Linked DNA regions of Homo sapiens: regions 1 and 3 are each linked to region 2. The links are contacts of gene promoters, found by promoter capture Hi-C in blood cells and fetal thymus (Javierre and others, 2016). All regions are on one chromosome and are shown on one strand. The core of a region is centred on a gene start or on the middle of the fragment in contact, and the rest is flanking DNA. Distances in the headings are between cores, read along the strand shown.

Region 1 (3,344 bases), core at 642-3,141, 3.8 Mb before region 2:
GTGGAATTCCAAGAGCTGAGAAGGACCTGTGTCATCTAGCCCAGGGCATCACAAACCCCAGCAAAATCACTTAGAATGTTTTTTCAAAGTACAATTCCCAGACCCCACCTTACATTTAACAGTTGTAAACAACTCTTGCTTTTGTCTGCCAGGGCATGATTCTCTTCAGAGTTCCTTCAGAGAAGTCTTTCTTCTTTCCCCACTCCATGTGGTTCTACTAGGGCTACAAATTCTGTAAGGCAGGCCTCTCTAGAGGTGATAGGACCCAAGATAGGCATATGGTCCAAACTGGGCCAATCAGAGTTATCTTTTGAGATGTCAGAGTCAGTGGATGAAAGACCAAAGTTCCTCTTCTCCCTTGGATGCCTAATAGAAAATGTGGTTACAGCTGGGTGCAGTGGCTCACGCCTGTAATCCCAGCACTTTGGGAGGCCGAGGCAGGTGGACCACCTGAGGTCAGGAGTTCAAGACCAGCCTGGCCAACATGGTGAAACCCTGTCTCCACTAAAAATACAAAAAAAAAACTGGCCAGGAGCAGTGGCTCACACCTGTAATCCCAGCACTTTGGGAGGCCGAGGCGGGTGGATCACCTGAGGTCAGGAGTTCAAGACCAGCCTGACCAACATGGTGAAACCCTGTCTTTACTAAAGATACAAAAAACTAGCTGGGCTTGGTGGCAGATGCCTGTAATCCCAGCTACTCGGGAGGCTGAGACAGGAGAATTGCTTGAACCCAGGAGGCGGAGGTTGCAGTGAGCCAAGATTGCACCACTTCACTCCAGCCTGGGTGACAGAGCGAGACTCCATCTCAAAAAAAAAAAAAAAGAAAGAAAGAAACCAATATTCTGACCTCTGGAGATGAACAGTCAGGTGTGATCAAAAACAAGACTCGTGAGTCCAAATACTGAAACCAAGGTGCAAATGTTCACCTGCTGTGTCAGTTTGAGTACTACAGGAAACAGAAGCCAAGATGGAATTAGAAGTATAAGATATATTAGGGGAAATGCCTATGAAGGAAAAAGGGAAGCGAGAGCAAGAGCAGGTGGTAAGGGTCTGAGACCACAAGGAAGTTCTGACACCTGTCAAGGAAGAGAAGGAAGGAAGGAAGATTGGGTAGGAAGAGTATCTGATTGCAGCAAGGCTTTGAGGAAATCTGGGCCAAGTCGATGGGAAGCCCAGGTCAATGATTGCCCGGTGAAGGAGTCCAGCACTGGGCAGAAATGGCCTGGCTCCAGCACACCTTTCTCAGTCATTGCTGGGAATAGCCCTACAGAGAGTATGCCGTTGGCATAAATGATCCCAGAGGAAGACAGCAGGAAGCTGTCAGTCAACCACACTCCTTGCAACTGGTTCTCTTGAAAGTAGGTCTGAATGGTGCTTTTCCATGGCTGCCATACCCATGTACCATGAATTAAACTCCCCCAAGGGAACTCTAGGGAGGTGACCGCATGAAATAAGCAGTCAGTGTCCATTGTCTACACTGCTTCTCACAACACACATCATTAACATAACTGAGTATATATGTATATATATATTTTTTTTGAGATGAGTTTCGTATGCGATCTCAGCTCACTGCAACCTCCACCTCCCGGGTTCAAGCGATTCTCCTGCCTCAGCCCCCCGAGTAACTGGGATTACAGGCATGCGCCACCACGCCCAGCTAATTTTGTATTTTTAGTAGAGACAGGGTTTCTTCATATTGGTCAGGCTGGTCTCGAACTCCCGACCTCCGGTGATCCACCCACCTTGGCCTCTCAAAGTGCTGGGATTACAGGCGTGAGCCACCACATCCGGCCTTTTTTTTTTTTTTTTCCTTCAAAACGTGTGTTGGTTTGGCCTTACTAAAAGTGTCAGCTCATTTAGTAAAAAATATATGTTTTCCTGAAGAAGAGTGGGTGGAGCATTTTCTCATTTATTTTTCTACCATGAACATATTTGAATTGCCACAAAGAAGTTACTATGGAAACTGCTCTCGAACTTGCAAGATAAAAGGTAAAAATGGAACACTTTGTTGAAATGCAAATAGTCTCTGGAGATCACTTTTTAACAAAGTCTCCGGGTCTGATTTTTCTGAGTCCTTTAAAGGCTCTCTTGAATTAGAAGCGGACAGGCAGATTTTTTGGCTTTACATTCCAGATGGCTCCAGCTGACTGTGCAAATGTCACAGGTGACAACTCTAGGATGGGTCTAGACGTATGCAAACTTGGTTTTGGAATGAGCAAAGAGGCTGACAGTGCCCTGCTGTGAACACCCAAACAGGCCCAGGGGAGGGAAGGTGGTTGTTTCTGGGCCAGGCCCGTTCTGCAGGTGTACTCTGGACTCACTTGTTTGAAAGTTAACTTGCTGAGCTCTTATTTATGCAAAGTAGTTTCTCTTTCTTATCTCCTCTGGCCACATTCCATCTCTGGGATCTTGAGCTGGATAGTCTTTTCAACAAAAAAACACAAACTTCTTATTTGAAAGCCCTATTCCTCTACCCATCTCTGCTCATCTTTACCTGCCTCTCCCCACCCACCTCTCCAACTCACTTCATATCAGCCCAAGTACTCCTACCATTACAAAGCTCTGAGATAACTTTGGATTTCTGCTTGTTGTAATTTTCTGCCTGTCAATTCCTTCAACCTTGCTTCTTTCTCTTGGGGCCTCAATCCGAAAGCCTTACTGAAACTTTTTTCAAAGCTGCTTTCGGTAATTAAGTGAATGCAACTTGGAGAGGGTTTCCTGTAGTCTCAGCTACTTGAGAGACTGAGGTGGGAGGATTGCTTGAGCCCAGGAGTTTCAGATCAGCTGGGGCAACAGAGTGAGACCTCCAGCTCAAAAAAAAAAAAAAAGAAAAAGAAAAAGAAAATAGAAAAGAGGTGGTTTCACTTGAGGGACCAGGGTCCGAGGTTGTTTATTTGGGATTATTGTTACCTAGCTTCATGACTAGCAACCATCAATTTCACTTCTTTGTGAATTGGAGTCTTTATTTGATCCTTTCGAGGGATCCTTCCATTTCAACCTCCTAAGTAGCTGGCCTCACAAGAGTGTGCCCCAACGCCTGGCTTTTTTTTTTTTTTTTTTTTTTTTTTTAAAGACTGGGCTGGCAGGGGGATCTCACTTTGCTGCCCAGGCTGGTCTCAAACTCCTGGGCTCAAGTGATCCTCCTGCCTTGGCCTCCCAGCCTCCCAAAATGCTGGGATAACAGGCGTGAGCCACTGTGCCTGGCCTGTAATGAACTATTGTAGAACCTAAGATTGGCCTTTTAAGACGTCTTTTCAGGCTTTTGCATTTCTGACAAACGGATGACCCCACCCAGACCAGCCACTCCTCTGCTGGCCCTCCATCAAGAAGCCGATTCAGCAA
Region 2 (3,385 bases), core at 882-3,381:
AGCTTATGAATGATAGAGTCTAAAAACCTTCTGTCCTTAGCACAGGGCCACTGCCTGTGGCAAGTGCTCAAAATTTTGAGTTCAGACACTCATCGACTTGGTAGTGTGAAAGGTGTCTGCTACAAACTTATTAACTTTCCAGAGCTTCAGGCTCTGGAAACTATTGATGGAGAGAGGTGAAGATAAGAAAGACACCTATCTTGAGTTTTAGTAGGCAGAACACTCTAGAGAATCATTTGACTGGTTTTCTCACTCTGTAATTTTCAGACCATTTATATCAAATTAATTTGTGGTGCTTGTTAAAGATGCAGATTTCTTGACCCCACAGACTTATTGAATTGGGATCTCTAGGGGATGCCTGGGCATCTGCATTTTTAATGTGCATATAGGTTTATTGATTTACAAATCAAACTCATATTTCTTTTACTGGCATGACAATCACCGTAATTCAGTGTAATTCTCAAAAGTGTGGTGCAGGAACTCCTGGGTGTCCCTGACACTGTTTCAAAACAATTTACATAATATTAGGACATATCCCTTTTTCACTCACATTCTCACACAATATGGCACAATTTTCTAAAAGTTACATGATGATTGATATTGTAAGAGAATGAAGGTAGAAGTTACGAAAATCTAGCTGTCTTTTATTCAGCCAGACATTAAAGAGATTTGTAACAATGTAAAACAATGCCATTCTCAATAATTTTTCATTTTGGAAAATATCCTTTACAGAAATGCTATCTATGTTAACATATAATGAGTTTATTTTAAAATGAATAACCTTTGTTGAAAGTTGTTTTCTAAAATAGTAAATATTGATAGCTATTATAAACAAAAACCCTTTGAAGTTCTCAATACATTTTAAAAGTATAAAGAAATTCTAAGATCAAAAAGTTTGAGAACTGCTGCTATAATTATCAGCAGCATTTAAAAAATAAGTGGCTTCCCAAGATTCCATACTTTAGCCCCAAATTCTATGCATTTTCCATTACAACAGAAAATCAGAGGAAATGATCCATTTTATATTTAAGCAGGGGTTTTTTTGTTGTTGTTTTTTGGAATTTTAACAAGCTTCCAGGTGATATTGATGAACCTAAATTTAGAGAACCACTGTCAAAAGCAAAGGAAAATATCTGAAGAGTTTTAGAAGTGACAATTACTCTTATCTGGGAATTAAGATGATAATTCCGAGGGCATTAAATGGAGTTGGAAAACATGAGTTCTTAAAGGCTAAGTCCCTTCACCTCTCTGGGATTCAGTTTTTCTTATCTGTACAATAAGATTGATTTTAATATTTTACTAGCTCTGTCAGTCTGGATTTCATGCATTTTCACTGCTCGAGGGCAACAGAAGAGTTGCATCTTTCTGATGAGGTCCCAGGAGTAATCTTAGAGTCATAAATCAGATCATGTCATTCATCTGCTTAGAAACCTTCAATGGTTTTCCACTGGATTCCAAACAAAAATCAAACTCTTTATCCTTGCTCATAAGCCTTACAAGATTTGGGCTCAAGTCCCTGGCCTCATCTCTCTCCATTCTCACCTTGCTCCTTTTGCTCTAGCCAGTGGCCTTTGTCTTTTCCTTGACTTTGCTAAGTTTGTTCCCACTATATGGCCTTTGCACGCGCTATTCTCTCTGCCTGGAATGCTCTATTCCAGATTTTCATACGGCTTATTACTCTCCCACTTCGTTCCATCACATTATCCAGTCTAAATTTCTTTACAGCACTTACTACCACCTTAGATAATCCCGTTTGTTGACTTGTTTATAATCTGCTTTTCGCACTGCTTGAGAGCAGGGCCCTTCCGTTCGTTGACTGATGTGTCCCTGGAGCCCAGGGCAGTGCCTGGCAGGTATCTGGCTCTCAGTAAGTGTTCGATGACCGAACTCCCACACCCAGGCCAGACTTTCAAAAGAATGGCAAACATTTTCGCCTCCTGCACTCCCGACCCCAAGCCACAGGCTACGACTCACGCCTCGGCGCTCCTAGTAGTCCCCTCGCAGCGACCCCAACCAAGCCGTCACCTACCCGACCGCCGTCTAGCTCCTTCCGGCCTCAGCGGCGGCTTAACTCGGAAGTTTTCTCGGACACACCGGCACGCCTCTGCGCTGAAGGAGCACTTCCGGGGCAGTAGGAACGCCGAGTCGGCTGCCGTGGCTGTGCTGAGGGTGGCGGCCGGATAGGTGCGGAGCTTCCTGAACGAGGCAGGAGGGGTGCGAGGTTCAGGGGCAGGGCCCGGGCAGCCGAAGTCGTTAGGGAGGCGGTGACCTGACGGTGGGCGGCGGACATCTCGCGGCAGGGTCGAGGGCTGTGAAAGCGGTTTAGTGATTGAAGCGCTACGTTTGTGTGAGGAATTCTTGTCGTTGTCAGCGCCTGAGAACTTAGTTGGGAGCGGACGTTTACGTCGAATCTCTCGTTTGGGACCCCATTCTTGAATGTGGGAAGAAGTGAGAGCGCATGTTTGCTCATCTAGAGACAGCCGTATTAATAACGATAGGATACAAACCATCACCCCACCAAGTGATAGCAGCTGTTAACCTGTGGGCGGTTACGTGCCGGTCACTGTTCCAAGCCCCTCACATATCGCGTCACTGAATCTTTATAGGGACCCAGAACTCCATTTGACAGATGAGGAAACGGAGAGGCAGACAGGTGACCTGACTTCCCCACAATCGCTGCAGGACAGGAAGAAAGTAAACTCCAGAGCCCGTGCTCTTAGCTACTAAGCTGTACTGCTCTTCATTTTGGTAAATGGGGCGGGTGGAGTGTATATATACGTAATATATATGTGTGTGTGTAAGCGTATGCGTTTTTATTTCTTAAAAATATGGCTCAGCCGTATTTATTTACAGTTATTGGAATCTTTCTCCTCCAACTGAGAAAATAACTGGAGGAGAAACTACAATTATTTCTACACGCTTACTACACAATGCCTGGAAGACTTACAAAAACACTAAATAGTGCAGTTCCACGTACTTGGTGTTTATTCCTTTTTTTTTTTTAACCTTTCTCCTAGATTATGAATGAGTTGAGGAAAGAGATGGTACAGTCATTCTAATAACGATAGTAATGATAATATAAACAACCATCACCATAAAAAATTCTCTTCTGGCTTAGCTCAAATATCTGGCACAAATGAAAGAATAGAGATAACCAGTGTTTAATATTTTAGTAAAGGGACTGTTTTGGCAGGGCATGGTGGCTCACGCCTGTAATTTTAGCACTTTGGGAGGCTGAGGCAGGGGAAGATTGCTTGAGGCCAGGCCTAGGGTTCAAGACCAACCTGGCCAACATAGCGAGACCCTGTCTTTAAAAATATATTTTGGAGTATGTCCTTCCAGTCTTTCATGGAATTATATGAATTTATGTAATATGTATATTATA
Region 3 (3,227 bases), core at 106-2,605, 3.7 Mb before region 2:
GCCATTCTATAGAAGGGTGCCATGACAGATTGAAAGTACAATGTTTGAATCAGTGACCCGGCAAAGGCACATCAGTGTCTTCCCTATTGTGATGCTATGTCAAACTGGCCTAAACACACACACACACACACACACACACACACACACAGCAGTGTGGTGCAGAAATCATCTGAGACTATTCCTTAGTTGCACTGGAGACAGCTGACTGGAAACAGCTGCAATGAGCTGAGAAAAGTGACAAGGCTGAATTTTAAGCTTGGCCTTTTCTGAAGCCTAAGTACCGCTGTTCTCGGTTTTATGTAAGTCATACTCATGCCCTTTTGGCAACCTCTGTGTAACAGAGATGCTGTTCAAATTTGAGAGTTCATTTTACTGCTGTACACAGGGCTCAGATGTTCTTGATTTTGCCTATTTTCTTGCTCTTTATTTGCAGGAAGTGAAGTCAAAGTTATCCAAAGAATATCACTTTATTAAAATGAAAACATCAAGACACCATATTGTGGGAAATTATTTCAGCAATCAAAGTAAACTACAACAACAGGACTCAAACAAATTTTCAATCATGGTATCACGTCAGAGGCCCAATAAATCAGGTTTGTTTTGAAATCCTTCTCAGCAGGATGTGTGCGAGTAAAAGGACTGTGTAGGCTCCCTGCAGGAAAACTGAATTTGGAACTGGAGACAAGCCATTCACCTAGACAATGGTCTAGGAGCCAAACCCTGCATGTCATATGCATTTTGGATTGACCACACACACTTGTTCACACCGGCACAGGCTGCACACCAACACACCTGTAGCTAAAACAAAGTAATGATAACACTTTTTCTTACAGCTTTATAATGTCAAGACGTGAGCTTGAACACACCAGTTCATTTCACAGTGACAGATATACCTAGAAAAAGCTTGCTTGAAGCACAATTATAAACCAGAACCACCGTGGGCTAGGTATGGTGCTGCGATACTAAGGAGAAATATAGACACTAGAATTATGTGGAAAAGAGGATAATGCTCTTTAGTCTTGTCTTACCATCTCTATAGGCATGTCAATATTAAAAAGGAGGAAAAGCAATTGCATTCCACTTGCAAGTACAGCTTGTGTGTGAGTTCTTTGTTGGTATCAGTGATGGCTTAGGCTTAATGATGACGAAAAACCTTTCCTCCTATGCTTTTTTTCTTCTTTAGTATTCCCAGTATTGCAACAGCCTCCTATACTTTTATTATTACTTTTTTTTGAGACCTCGTATCACCTCTGTAGAGGTCTCTATGATGTCCCTATGATCTCGGCTCACTGCAGCTTCCACTTACAGGGTTCAAGCGATTCTCGTGCCTCATCCTCCTGAACAGCTGGAACTAGAGGCAGATGCTGCCATGCCCAACTAATTTTTGTATTTTTAGTAGAGACAGGGTTTCACCACGTTGGCCAGGCTGGTCTTGAACTCCTGGCCTCAAGTGTTCTGCCCGCCTCGGCCTCCCAAAGTGCTGGGATTACAGGTGTGAGCCACTGTGCCTGGCTACTTTTAAAATTTTATTACTGCAAGGAAAAGAATACAACTGCTCCACAAGGGAATTCAAAGAGATTCTATGACAGAGATACAAAGTGAAATATTTTACAGTTAAAACACCATTACACTTAATTTTGCACTCCTTGTTTTTTCATAAACATTCCACACTGTCCTCTCTGTGAATTTGGATGGGTAACTTGGATCTGAATTGATGAAATACATCATTTTAAAGTCAGCGACAAAATGTAGCTCCTCATGTATTCTTCATTATGTTTCACTGATGATATGACCTAACAAAGCTTCTTCTTGCTGTTACAGCCTGATGGAACTTACATTTTATGTGAATATTTTGCAAAGGATTATGCATTCTCAAATGCATAGGCATTTTTTTCCAGAAAGCATTTGTATATGTCCACAAATAGTATTATCTTACTGGTATCTATATTTTGATTTTCCTGAGCAACTGTATCCAATCAGAGTTTAGAGTAGGCATATATTTTTTTAAATTAAAACTGTGGCATACATATAAAACATACCTAGTTCTTTTTTTTCCCCCCTTCCAACTTTTGTTTTTGGATCAGGAGGTACACGAAAGGTTTGTTGCAGGTGTAAATCGTGTGTCACTGGGGTTTGGTGCACAAATTATTTTGTCACCCAGGTAGTGATCACAGTACCCAATAGGTAGTTTTGTGATTCTCACCCTCCTCCCACCCTTCACCCTCAAGTAGGAACTCTTTCTTGAATGAATCCAATCCTCACCCATGTTTCTGTTGTTTTCTTGCTTTCTGAAGGTCATCAACTCTGTGCGACGTCAATGCCTTTCTCTCATGTACACTCAACTGTCTGCAGTGCCATGGTGAAAATTTTCAGTATGTAGGGCATATTCTCTGAGATCTTGATTCCAGGGATATATACTTAATCATAAGAAGTTGACAAAGCTGGTCTTCACACACTGTCATACCATTACAGTAAAGTGCTCTATAGGGAAAGCTAAAACCACCCACCACATAGCAATACACAGGAATATTCCTTTCCCTTGACAATCTTGGTAGCAAAGCAATAACTGGTAAAATAGAAATAAATGTTGCAATGAGACTTGGAGTGCATTTCAACTACCTAATGGTGGCAAATTGCATAGGCAAATTAAGGTCCCCCAAACTGCTCTCATTTTGGGAACAAGCATACTGTCTTTGTGTTACAGCCAGGCAAGCAGGCCGGGGTAAATCCTAGCTTGGGCAGGGATGCTGTGGCATGGTAAGACATCCAACGAAGGCACACGGAACAGCACAGAGCGTTTCAGGATGTTCTCTCTTAATAAACAAATTTCTAGGAATGAAGCAAAACAGTCCCTTGCTTGGCACACCTCTCCATCCAAAAGACAGTGACTTAATAAGGTAACAATTTAATTATCAGGATACAGATGCTTTGAATGGCTAAGTAGGTCATTGTGTTCACAGGGCAGATGTCAGAACTGCTTGCCAGATGACAAAAGAGATAACCTTAGGCTGTTTTTATTCCATTTATACAAGACCTAACTCACACATTAGAGCCTCTGCTGTTTACAGCTTTACTCTAAGGATCTATGAGGAGGCTCCAAGAAATTCCCTTGTGCCATTTACACCTTTAGAACTTAAAATAACCTGCACATATGGTAATATGAGCCTGACAGACACAGTCCTGCACCCAGCCAGGCAGAGTGGCTGTAAAACAGCGTCTGTGTTTTA

The links. The method cuts DNA at HindIII sites, captures the fragments that hold promoters and counts their contacts. A CHiCAGO score of 5 or more calls a contact.
Region 1: a contact is called between a fragment that was not itself captured here and the fragment with the promoter of FAM114A2 in region 2, in 2 of 17 cell types (naive CD8 T cells and non-activated CD4 T cells). The highest score is 5.8, in naive CD8 T cells.
Region 3: a contact is called between a fragment that was not itself captured here and the fragment with the promoter of FAM114A2 in region 2, in 2 of 17 cell types (non-activated CD4 T cells and naive CD8 T cells). The highest score is 7.2, in non-activated CD4 T cells.

The regions. Positions count from the first base shown.
Region 1 is chr5:157,860,362-157,863,705 of GRCh38, reverse strand. No RefSeq gene overlaps it. Among named protein-coding and RNA genes, the nearest start is that of CLINT1, 2.9 kb to the right of the region's middle. The HindIII fragment of the contact is 5,007 bases long and covers 1-3,344 here.
Region 2 is chr5:154,037,656-154,041,040 of GRCh38, reverse strand. It overlaps FAM114A2 (family with sequence similarity 114 member A2), which reads left to right and starts at 2,131. Exons shown (of 14, transcript NM_018691.4): 1 at 2,131-2,184. MFAP3 (microfibril associated protein 3) reads right to left here and starts at 2,074. Exons shown (of 3, transcript NM_005927.5): 1 at 2,030-2,074. The HindIII fragment of the contact is 2,878 bases long and covers 1,074-3,385 here.
Region 3 is chr5:157,744,915-157,748,141 of GRCh38, reverse strand. All of the region lies in intron 1 of LSM11 (LSM11, U7 small nuclear RNA associated), which reads right to left. Among named protein-coding and RNA genes, the nearest start is that of LSM11, 2.8 kb to the right of the region's middle. The HindIII fragment of the contact is 899 bases long and covers 906-1,804 here.